Linked DNA regions of Homo sapiens: region 1 is linked to region 2. The links are contacts of gene promoters, found by promoter capture Hi-C in blood cells and fetal thymus (Javierre and others, 2016). All regions are on one chromosome and are shown on one strand. Each heading gives the region's core, a stretch centred on a gene start or on the middle of the fragment in contact. The rest is flanking DNA. Distances are from core to core; before and after follow the strand shown.

What was found. Contacts are between HindIII fragments. The CHiCAGO score rates a contact against its expected background, and 5 or more counts as called.
Region 1: a contact is called between the fragment with the promoter of WDR75 here and a fragment that was not itself captured in region 2, in 3 of 17 cell types (megakaryocytes, fetal thymus and erythroblasts). The highest score is 8.6, in megakaryocytes.

What each region holds. Positions count from the first base shown.
Region 1 is chr2:189,436,639-189,442,793 of GRCh38, forward strand. It overlaps WDR75 (WD repeat domain 75), which reads left to right and starts at 4,836. Exons shown (of 21, transcript NM_032168.3): 1 at 4,836-4,940. The coding sequence starts at 4,855. It also overlaps a transcript of COL5A2 not described here. RefSeq lists enhancers at 3,702-4,400, 4,172-4,331, 4,352-4,571, 4,832-4,961, 4,982-5,211 and 1 more. The HindIII fragment of the contact is 5,353 bases long and covers 1,745-6,155 here.
Region 2 is chr2:188,524,549-188,530,954 of GRCh38, forward strand. It overlaps GULP1 (GULP PTB domain containing engulfment adaptor 1), which reads left to right. Exons shown (of 12, transcript NM_016315.4): 6 at 4,549-4,647. Among named protein-coding and RNA genes, the nearest start is that of MIR561, 230 kb to the left of the region's middle. The HindIII fragment of the contact is 1,282 bases long and covers 1,079-2,360 here.

The DNA.
Region 1 (6,155 bases), core at 3,586-6,085, 920 kb after region 2:
GTACATATACACTATGGAATACTATGCAGCCACAAAAAGGAACAAGATCATGTCCTTTGCAGGGACATGTATGGAGCTGGAAGCCATTATCCTCAGCAAACTAACACTGAAACAAAAAAAACAAACACCACATGTTCTCACTTATAAGTGGGAGGTGGTGATGAGAATACATAAACTCATAGAGGGGAACAACACACACTGGGGCCTGTCGCAGGGGTGGCCGAGTGGAGGGAGAGCATCAGGAAGAATAGCTAATTTGATGCTAGGCTTAGTGCCTAGGTCATGGGTTGATCTGTTCAGCAAACCACCATGGCACACATTTACCTATATAACAAACCTGCACATCCTGCGCATGTACCCTGGAACTTAAAATAAAAGTTGATTTAAAAAAAAAGAGAGAGAGAAAGTCTGAACGAGATAGTCTTTGAAGCAGACACCACTGTGTTCCAAGATCAGCGCTACTGATTATAAGCAGAATGATCTAGGGTAAGTTAGCATAGTAAGTCTTAGGTTTTTCACCTATAGAACAGAAATATCACCTCCAGGGCTGTTGAGATAATTAGAAATATATGAAGCATCAAGCACGTGGCTGGCCCGTGGGAGGCACCAACTGAGAGCCATTTGTATATAGAGCTGCCATTAGATTATTTTTTAAAGTAGTACTTCTCAAACTTAAATATGCATAGGAATCACCTGCAGATCTTGTTAGAATGCAGATTCTGATCCCACATATCTGGGTAGGGCATGAGTTTCTGCATTTCTAACAAGCTCCCAGGTGACACTGCTGTTGCTGGTCCACGGACCACACTTTGTGCAACAACATTTCAAACCATTCTAAAATTTCGCTTTAGCCACTGGGTACAAGAGATCATACAATTTTAATCTATGGGTTTAATCATAGCCAAAACAGAAAAGGTGTAATTATAACCATGAGAACTGTTAACCTTAAATGGAACATAACCCGCTTGTGATAATCATCACTTAACTGCCTGAGGTTCCTAGGGCAGAGGTATACAAGAGAGAAAGTGCAGAATGAAAAATATATGGGATAGATAAGGATTTCAGCATCATAGGAAACCTAAGAAGAGATAAAAATTGCACCATCATTAGGGAATGAGGAAACATAGCAGAGCCCAAGGGCCTATCACTAAGTAATTCATGACATTAATACAAAATCGATGTAATCTGCTTGAAGATGTCTCCTATGTACATTATGCAGGGTAGTGGTGTGAAATACTGTACATGGTGTTTATATCTGTTGAAGGGAACAGAAACATACATGAAGATACTAAGCAGTAAAAATGTGACTAAATCCTTCTCACTAATGGGAAAGCTTTTAAAAATTTTATTAAATAAAAAATAAATAAAAATAAAAATTTTAAAAGAGAATGCTCAAAACTCAACAAGAAGATAACCAATAAAGCAATGCGTGAAGGACTTGATGACACTTCACCAAAGAGGATATAAAATGATGCTCAGCATTAGTCATTAGGGAAGTGAAAATTAAAACCACAATGAAATACCACTACAAACTTATTATGATGGCTAAAATAAAAAAAAAAAACCTTGACAATACCAAGTCCTGACAAGGGTGTAAAGTAACTAAAACTTTCATACATTACTTATGGAAATGCAAAAATAGTACAGTAACTCTGGGAAAAAAAGAGTTTGGCAATTTCTTAAATAAACATACACTTATGATTTGAGCAATCTCATTTGCTGGTATTTATCCTAGAAAAATAAAAGCTTATGTTCACACATAAACCTACATATGAATGTTTAGAGAAGTATTATGCATAATTTCTAAAACCTGGGGGTAAAACACATTCAACAAATAAACTGTGAAATAGCCATACAATGGAATACCACTCAGCAATATAAAGCACTGATGCACATAACATAAATGCAATATGCTAACTGAAAGAAGCTAGACTGAAAAGGTTACATACTATATGATACCATTTATACATGGCTTTCTGGAAAAGGCAAAACTAGGGATGGAGAACATTAGTGGTTGCCAGGGGATAGGTCTTGGGGAGGGGAAGGAGAAATACTGGGGAATTCTTTGAGGTGCTGGAATTCTTCTGTATCCTATTTGTGATGGTGGATACGATAATTTGTGCATCATAGATATCAAAGAAAGCAGATTTTATTGTATGTAAATTTTTAAAATTAGCCTAATCGTTTCACTTTTTAACACAAAGGCTACACTGTCTTCAATTTCAGAGTAAAACCCAAAGCTGTTACAATGATCTAGGAGACCCTATGAACTGGCCTCTTATTACCTCTCTGACCTCACCTTTTACTATACCCCCTTGATGATTATTCTCCAGCCACACTGGCCTCTTGACTTATCTTGAACATGGAAAGGAATACTCTTTCCTCTGGCTGACTCTTTCACCAAACAGCTCCATGCTTATTCACACTCTCAACCTTTTCAGGTTATTTCAAATGTTACCTTCTCAGTAAGGCTTTCCCTGAAAACCCATAATAAAGGTGATCAAACCCTTATAATCACTTTCTTTTCTACTTTGAGTTTCCCCTTGGCACATAAATACATCAAAAGTATAATAAGTTTTTGTTTCTTCCCATGATAAGGTAAGGTCCAGTAACATACAGATTTTGTTAACTATTTTTCTCACTCCAGTATTCCCAGAGCCTGAAAGAATGTCTGGCATATACTAGGCACTTAGTAAATATTTCCTGGATGGAAGATGCCAAATAAGTGTTTCTGGAAAATCCTTTTCCTTCTGTATATAGGCTATGCTCTTTCTTGCTATTCCCTTATTTCTTCTAACTGAAAGGAACATGAACTGTGAGCATAAGGACAAAACCAATATGGTTAAGGACAATAACACAAAGAACAAAGTAGAGAAAGCACAGGTCCCTGGTGGCATGAATGATCCACTGCACTAGCCCTATTCTGCCTACCTCAGCCTTCTTGTTACATGATAAAGACAACGCACTATTAATTAAACAGCTGTAGGTGGGATTGGTTCCTTAAAAATTATGTAAAAAGAAATCAAAATACAAATGACTTATCTTTCTGGGCACTTCAGTAAATTAAAACTCTGTGTAAAATAATCCTCCTATACATTTATCAATCCAGCTAGTTTTTGTCCATATCAGGATTTCTGATTCTTTTCTGAAAAATCTAAAGTTACCATACAGTAACATACAACTAAAGTCACACTAATTTGAGTGAAAATATTTATTTTGTTTCTTGGCTCAGGCCCTAAGGAAAAGCCTGTATCAGGTTACAAAGTACCCAACAAAGTCTTTAAAAGATTTATTGTGCATACATCAAGAGACTAAACAAAAAGAGGTTAAGGCTGCAGAATCAAAAGTGATATTTTACACTCCATCCACTGTGACAAAGGGTATCACAGTCATGAAAGAGAAAGCTGGTTACAGCTTGAGATAAACCAAAATTATTAAATATCTCCCTTTCTAGTTCTGGCTCCCCAAATAATAAAGTTTTGAGCACTTTAATAAGCTAGACTCCTCAGTAAAAAGTAAATTTATCCCTGATTTTTACAGTGGTGCTGTCCCAGGATATGTCTTGACCTTTGTGAATATTGTATTTCTCCACCATAAATAAACTTATAGGTATAATCATGTGTGGCTTAATGATGGGGATATGTTCTAAGAAATGCATTTTAGGTGATTTCATCATTGTGTGAATATCACAGAGTGTACCTACACAAACCTAGATGGTACAGCCTACTACACACCTAGGCTGTACGTTATAGCTGATTGCTCCTAGGCTACAAATCTGAACAACATGTTACTGTACTCAATATTGCAGGCAATTGTAACAGAATAGTATTTGTGTATTTAAACACATAAAAGGTACAGTAAAAACACAGTATTATAATCTTACGGAATCACCATGTTATATGCATTGATTGAAAGATCCTTATGTGACATGTGACTATATTTGAGACCTTGGTAATTTTGTGGTAAATCCACAAATCAAGAAGCGAAATCAAAATAGGCAACATAATATACAGGGTCCAAGAATATGATACGTGTAAGTTTACAAAGGAAAACTGGAGATAAACTGGCAAAAATAAACATGTTGAGATTTTAGGGGTTCCTAACCCACAGATTCTATTCACTAATGGGAAAAGGTAAAACTCAGGAAACCAGAGACCAGCGCCCTGAAACCTGGCGGGACTGGCCGAATGTCAGATTAGCCCGAGCAGCTACACTGAACGCTGCGGAAGATGCACCAGAATCCCGGAGTAGGAGCCAGATTTCCAAAGGAAGAAAGCTAGGCCCTAGGACTGTGGAGATTCTGTAGTAACCTAAGCGATGTTCACAAGAACAGAAGAACGGCTAATGAGAGGAACAAAAAGCTGTACAAGGAAGAGAAAGCTACCTTTCCACCCAATAACTCAACGCTGCGACCGAGAAAACCAGGGACGCGAGAGGCTCGCGTCATCCTGCAGCGCCGACACCACAGACACTAGAAAGCGACGCCTCCGGTGGGACGACTGGAGGTCACGTGGTACACTATACGCCACCTTTCCCTTCTGGCGGAAAAAGCCATAGAGTCAGGTTGACAAGGCCTGAGAGAAATATGTCTGTATTAAATAATTGTGTATAGGTATATAATAAAAACTGATTGTCTCTAAATCTCTGTTTTGCTTTCACCTTTTCTTACAAGTGTCTTAGTTTGACATTGCCCACACAAAAGGTGCCTGCACGGAAGCGGAGTCCTACCACCGAGTCTCAGGCCTAGAAGGGCCCGGGGGTGGGTTCTGTGGGCTGGGAACAGCCTTATTACCCGGCTCAACGAAGGAAGTTCAGGGCGGGACCAGAGATTGGCCATTCCGCTACTGCGCAAAGATGGTGGAGGAGGAGAACATCCGCGTGGTTCGTTGTGGCGGCAGCGAGTTGAACTTTAGGAGAGCTGTGTTCTCTGCAGATTCTAAGTATGAGGGGCACCGCGCTTTGTCGGCTGAGGGGCGGGGCGTGAGTTTCTCGAGGGTCGGGGAGAAGGAATTGTCAGTCGCGTTCGGACTCGCCCGCCTGGCGGATATCGGCTTTGGGTAGAGCACGCGCCTGTGGGGGATCCCCAGGGTACCTGGGAGGTCCCGTTACCACTGCAGATTGGGTTGCGTCCCCCGATTCCTGGACAGTTTACCTGCAGGTAGATAAAGGCCCTGGAGCCGGTCTCCGTGTCGAGGATCTGGAAGGTGTTCGGGCGGCTGGAAAATGGTCCAGGGGTGGATGTGTATGCCACTACCTTTGCAGTACCTACTCTTTCGTACAGAATCATGTTTTGGAGTGACTAAAACCTAAAACTATTCCGCTTTTTCTACCCACTCCTCACTCCTGAAGCATAGTGCATGAAGCATAGTGCAGTCTTTTCGGAACTTTACATGAAAACAGATGTTAGATTCTTTATGAGATAAAAATACGCTAAGACTTGGTCTCTTTTCTCAGTGTAGCTGGAAACCAAACCACTCCCTGGCTTCAAAATCCACTTCTTACATTATGAAACCTTTGTAAGTTTCTTAATCTTTGCCTCAGTTGCCATCATCTGTAAAGGGGGACAATATTTAGTTCATCTCACGTGGTTATTGGGAGGATTAAATGCCTCAATATGTTAAAACTACAGACAACAATGCCCGGCACATAATGGCTCAATGTATGTAGCTGTAATCATTATTACTGTATTGTCAGGTTTTCAAATAACTTTAGGTAGGGTGGCACTTAATAAAATCAAAAAACCCTTTCTGCCTTAGAAGAGTAGAGATAGTATTTTATGAAAGTTTGTAGCCTCCACAATATTCTTTTTTTTTTTTTTTTTTTTTTTTTTGATGCAGAATCTCACTCTGTCACCCAGGCTGGAGTGCAGTGGCTCAATCTAGGCTCATTGCAACCTCCGCCTCCCTGGTTCAAGCAATTCTGGTGCCTCGGCCTCCTGAGTAGCAAGTATTATAAGCGCGGGCCACCACGCCCGCTAATTTTTGTATTTTTAGTAGAGAGAGGGTTTCGCCATGTTGGCCAGGCTGCCCTGGAACTCCTGGCCTCAAGTGATCTGCCCACCTGAACCTCCCAAAGTGCAGCGATTACAGTGAGCAACTGTGCCCGGCCCACCCCCACAATATTCTGCATATGAGTGTACGACAGGTAGTTGTTGA
Region 2 (6,406 bases), core at 470-2,969:
ATACACTAATGATAATGAATAAAACAATGCTTTTTATCTATTTTTATATATATATATTTTTTTTTTGCTTTTTTTGTGTGTCAAGGGTCAGAAGCTACAATTCAAAGTATACTAAGAATATTTTTTAAATGTCAAGCCTGGCGCTACTGGCTCGCAATGGCCAGTAGGTGGTGGTGTGGCTCTACTAAAAAAAAAGAGAAAAAAGAACCTTGCTCTTTGATCATACTTACACATCTCCATTTTAATTTCCTGCTTATTTTTCTTTAACATATGAATTCTGACTACTTTTAAAAAAATCTATATAATTCAGTATGTGAATTTATTTGCCATGTAAGGTAACATTTTATTTATATTTACTCCTTTTTCAGCAATATTAATGTAATGGCTTCTGATATTAAAAAAGAATTTAAAATTTAAGAATAAAAGCTGATGGAAAAATTAAAGAATTCTCAACAATGAATTTTTCATGCTTCTGTGTTTAATGATGCCTGCTTAGTTTTCAAAAAAATTTAAAACTGACTTTTTTACACTCTTTCTATCATTTTTTAGAGAATTTACAGTTTATAAATTTTTCCTTTATAAATATAATTATTTTTATAAGTATTAACCTTTTAAGGTTCAGATACTATATTTATCAAAACATGTTCTTTATTTCCTAATCATGTTCAGCAGTTTCTATTTCTTAATCATGTTTTAGCTGGGCTTGGTGGCACACACCTGTAATCCCAGCTACTTGGGAGGCTGAGGCAGGAGAATCACTTGAACCTGGGAAGCAGGGGTTGCAGTGAGCCGCGATCGCGCCATTGCACTCCAGCCTGGGCAACAAGAGGGAAACTTCATCTCAAAAAACAAAAAAACAAAAACAACAACAAATAAAACAAATTTTCTAAAATGTAGTAATTTTAAACCCTTTCAACTTCTATGTATTGAATAGCATTGTTATTGGAACGAATTTTATTTTTAATAGTGATTTATATATATTTTATTAATACAACTAGTACAGATGTTGGGGGCTGAATGTATTTCATACACAATTTGTGATGTTTACATGTAAGTAAGTATTGATATATAGATTAAAAGCTTATCAATTTCCCTGGGAGATACCCAGTGGGCAGCATTCCTGGAACCCAGTTTTAGACTGAAGATCCCCTCACTGCAGTACAACTAAATTAAAGTTACACGAAATTACTGCAAGAAAATGTAGCCGTTGGGAATTGCTGTCAAGTCTTGTGAAGTCTCAGCCTAGTAGATTTTCCATTTGAACTCACTCTTTCTGTGTTGTATAACACTATTTTGTCTTCACAATCAGTTACCTAATTAATAAAACATTTAGAGCTTAATTTAATTATATATAAACATCGCTCATTTCCCGCAGGATTATTAGAAATACTTTAAATTAAAAATATAAACATGAGAACCCCAGAGAAGAATAGCTTCAAATAATAGGCCCGAAGTAGTAAATTAATTTTATTGCCTAACACTCTATATTCCATTAGTAGTTTACTTAATTTCACTTTTTAAAAAGTCCTCTGAGAAATGGATAGAAATTATATAATAAGATTGAAACTCAGTTGTGCTCCCTTTAAATTTTCTTTAACAGTTCTATTTATCAGTAGTATATATTTAACCAAATACTTTATTTCAAGTACTACTCCATCCTTCCCCATCATTTTATGATGACAAAGGCTTGGTTATATTTGTTTGTTGCATCCAGTCATTCTCCAAAATGCTTATGCATCACTTCCTTTGAATACTTTTTATTGGATTATTATATTCAGGGTTTAATGGCAGATCACTGTATCCATCTAGATCTACCAAGAAATAAATCCACTGAAGCAAAAATTGAAAGAAATTTACAAAAAAAGACTCTTCAAGCATTAACATTAAAGTAGTAAATAGGGAGAAAATAGAATATAATGTTATGTAGATTGATCAACATATCTTCCTAAGATTAATTAGAAATATTAGGAAGGCAAGAGGTCTGTAAGTAGGAAAAGGGACTTAGAGGGGAGCATGCAAACTATAGAATACAGTTAGCTTAAGTTTTAGGAAAAAAAAGAAAGGCAGGAAGGAGAATATTAAACTGAATAAAATATAGATTGAATGAATATAACCTTAGGCATGAGAGTTGTGTAACATATGTTCAAAAATCAAGGCCAATAACCAGTGTAAACCTTGATATGCATGAAGGTAGAACTGGGAATTTTCTTTTCTAAATGCAGAAAATATATTGTATAAAAGAAAAAATTATTTGGTGAATATCTGCAAAACTAATTACTAGGCCTAATTCCTAAAAACCCACTTTATGACCATGGTACATAGCTTATCTGGGACTTACTGTTCTTATCTTTGAAATAAGAAGCTTAGATTGCATGAACCTGAAGCTGTTTTGAGCACAATTAATTCATCCTGTTATGAAGAAGAGAGAAAAGTTTCAGAAAACCTAGATTAGAGATGTTGTGCTTATTTTTATTTTTCTTTATCTCATTCTGTCCTTCTTCCCTCTCTTCCTTTCTTCCTCCCCACTCCCTTCTTACCTCTCCACTTTGTTTTTCTACCTCAGCCCCTACTTCCTTCCTTTCTTTAATTCTTCCATTCTTTCTTCCCTTCTCAATAGATAAGTTTAATAATAGTGGTTGTTTTGTTGTAGATGTTTCAGGGGGAAAAAATTTAAAAGGTTGCACAGTTCTTGTCAGAGGTCACAGGAATGCTTGAGTCTGGATGTGGAAGGGGCTTCAGAAGTCATGCTCAGTCTGTTCCTGGAAAACAGCAGCACCTAGGAAACCAGCTGAGAATGCTTCTGCAGCTGATAATGAGAGTTGCTTTATCCAGACGCATTCACATAGGGGGAGAGCAGCTGACTTATTTTGTAAGCCTTCCTATATGAAAACCTTCAAATTGCTTAATTATGCTGATATAAGGAGATTATGAAGGGAAAATAAACAAAATTAATTCATATTATTTGGGAGAGAGCTGGGATAATTTTTAAAGATCTACACTCAAGCAAAATAAATTTATTAAAGGCAAAAAAGAAAATTATCTGGCACGAATTAGTTGTATCGTGCAGCAGTAAGACTGCTGGATACAAAAAATAGCAACCTAAGTTCGTAGAGCAAGACAGACAGCAAGCTGAAAAATTATACCACCCAAAATGGAATAAAACAAATGGTACCCCCTGGGATAGGAAGGCAGACACTTAAAGGCATTCATATATGCATTAATTATATTATTATGTGTGGCAGTGCAAAGCCATGAAAAGAGAGAAAGACTTTTAATCACTCTGTGCTCCAGGACGGAGCTATACCATGTGTATTCACATCTGCCCTAAATTACAGTGAAATACACAGTGCAAGTAACTGTGACATACAAGAGGACTAGAACGCTGTCTTGCATTACATGTCATCAATTTTGAGTCAGGTTGGGATGATCTATATCCCTAGAGAGAAAAAGTTACTCTAGAAAATAACTTTTTGAAGCCCTAGAAGAGGGGCAAGAAATTCTTTCTTCTAATAGTTTTCTTTCCATTTCTTAAAAAGAAAAAGTTGGATGCTGGGGTGATTGCAGAGGAGAGAAGGAATGTAGGGAGAGAGTAAAATTGCCAATTAAAATCAAGATGCCCAGTAAACTTTGACAAATATTTTTTAGTACAAATATGTTCCAAATATTGCATGGGCTAACGTGTATACTAAATACTATATATATGTTGTGTTTGTGCCTATATTTTAAAATTAAAGTTTTAAAAAGAATATTAATTGTTTAATACTCAAGTTTAGCTGGGCTCCTGAAATTTTCCCCCACTAAATTAAGCAATGCTAGGAGAGAGGCAGAGACTCCATCTGCTAAGCACATGAGTATTCTGGTTTTCTTTTTGATTTTATAACAGAATCGAACAAGCATTTACATACACCTACTAACTCAATGAGAAAGTATAATAAATACTACTATGAAAGTATTGAAAAAAAAAACTGTGCTTTCAAGATACTCACTATATTTGTAGTTCTAGACTGAGTCTAGTTCTATACCTGAGTCTTTCAGCTGGGATAATTACTTCAATTCTTAGCTTCAGTTTGGAAATGGTAATCTGCTTCTTTTTATTTATTGATGTGGTTGGATAGAATAGTGTTCCAAACTAGGTAAGTATCTAAAAATGGCAAAGAGGGCATATTCAACAGCTGATGAACTGCAAATTCTCTGAAGATAATAACAACAAAAGATTCACAGAAAAACAAACTGATCTCTACATATCTTCCCACAAAGTATTTTGAGTTTTCTCAACTGTCTGGTATGAATACGTTTTTGTAAATACCATGAAAGAAGTGCATTAAAAATCTTAATTTAAAAAACTTGCTGAAAATCAATGTGAATTATAATGGCTGATTGCTATGATTTTTAAATATATTGAGACTATCTTTATAAAATGCTTTATACTTGGCAAAAATTCACTTAATTAAAGTCTGAAATTGAATATGAACTCCAAATGTATATTTATTTTTGTTCATTCTTTATAGAAATAGAAGTGTAGCTTTGTGAATAATTTTTCATTCGTAGTTTGCAAGACATATCAAGAAATCTGAAGGCCAGAAAATTCCTAAAGTGGAGTTGCAAATATCAATTTATGGAGTAAAAATTCTAGAACCCAAAACAAAGGTAAGGCTTTTTTTTTAATGTTAGAGGCAATCTTTAATTAATTGCAATTATATTCCTACTTTAACAAATATTTAAAATTTTTTGCCACCCTGAACTGTTTAGTTCTGAGTTAATGACAGTTCGAAACTCTAGGAGTTTTAGAAGTGAAAACAACTTTTGGAATTGCATTATAAGTGATCTTTTCTTCAGCTTGTTTGGGATATAATATTAATAACTTATGTTAAGTGCATTCAACAGTGTTTGGACGTGTATTTGGGAATGTTTTTTTCATGAGATGTGAAAGAGATGCATACAGTGTGGTTCACTGAGTATGAAAGAAGATAAAAGCTGTGTGTTATTAAAATATTCTGCATTGACTTTTATTTCCTGTAGATGTAATCAGTGTGTATTAGTTTTTTACGGAGGCTGAAACAAAACACCACAAACTGGGTGGCTTAAACAGCAGAAAATATTTTCTCACAGTTGTGGAGGCTGGAGTTCCAAGATCAAGATGCCAGCAGGGTTAGTTTCCTCTGTAGCCTTTCTCCTTGGCTTACAGAGGGCTGCCCTCTTGCTGCCTTTTCACACTTGTCTGGTGTCTCTTCTTATAAGGACACTCATCAAATTGGATTAGGAACCATACTCATGGCCTTATTTTAACTTAGTTACCTTTTTAAAGGCCTTATCTCCTGTTTGAAGAAAAACTAGACAAATTAAATTTAGCAGAGTTTATTTGAACAGATAATGATTCATGAATCAGGCAGCACTTGAAACCAGATGTTCAGAAAGGTTTGCCCAGCAGCGTGAACATGGAGCTTTTTATAGGCTGAACACAGACTCAAAGGTGACAACTCACCTGATTGGCTATAGCAAGGCATATACCTTATATGGATATGTAGTGATGAGCTGGCTGCCTGTAATTGGCTGAAACTTAGCTATGTGTTATACTTCCAAATTAGTGTTCAGTTTATTTACATACTAGTTAGGTTGCAGTTTGTTGTATAGGAACTCAAAATACACAGACAACCCTAGGTGAATGGCCTCATGCTTATTTAATTTAGCACTCCAACCACAGTCTCATTCTGAGGTGCTGGGGATTAGAGCTTCAACATGTGAATTTTGGGGAACACAATTCAGCCCATAATACAGTGTAAACTTAAGTTTCTTGTATTTAGGACCCTTCAAAGCAAATAAAATATTTAAAAATAAAATCTGTTCTGGATTCAAATTCATTAACATATACTTGTTTTGGACTAAAGTGTTTCCTTCCAAAATTCCTGTGTTCATGCCCTAACCCCTAATATGACTATATTTGAAGATAAGGCCTTCAAAGAGGTAACTTAGGTTAAATGAGATTTTAAGGGTGGGGCCTCATCCAATATGTCTAGTATTCTTACAAAAAGAGGAAGAGACACCAGGGATACGTACACTCAGAGTAAGGACCACGTGAAGGCAGCAATCTGCAAGCCAAAGAGAGAGGCCCCAGAGAAACCAAACCTACCGACACCTTGATCTTAGACTTCTAACCTGCAGAACTGTGAGAAAATAAATTCCTGTTGGATAAGCCACCCAGTCAGTGGTATTTTGTTATGGCAGGCTTAGTAAACAAACACAGTACTTTATTCACAATGCCTCAGAGTTATCATTTAGTAATTTTGATAAGACCATATTAGTCAATTTGGAAAAATTAATATTTAACTCCAATTATTTTATAAATACGTATCGTCAAAGTGTTCTTCTAACACCATAGGATACATATTGACAAATTAATTCAGTATAA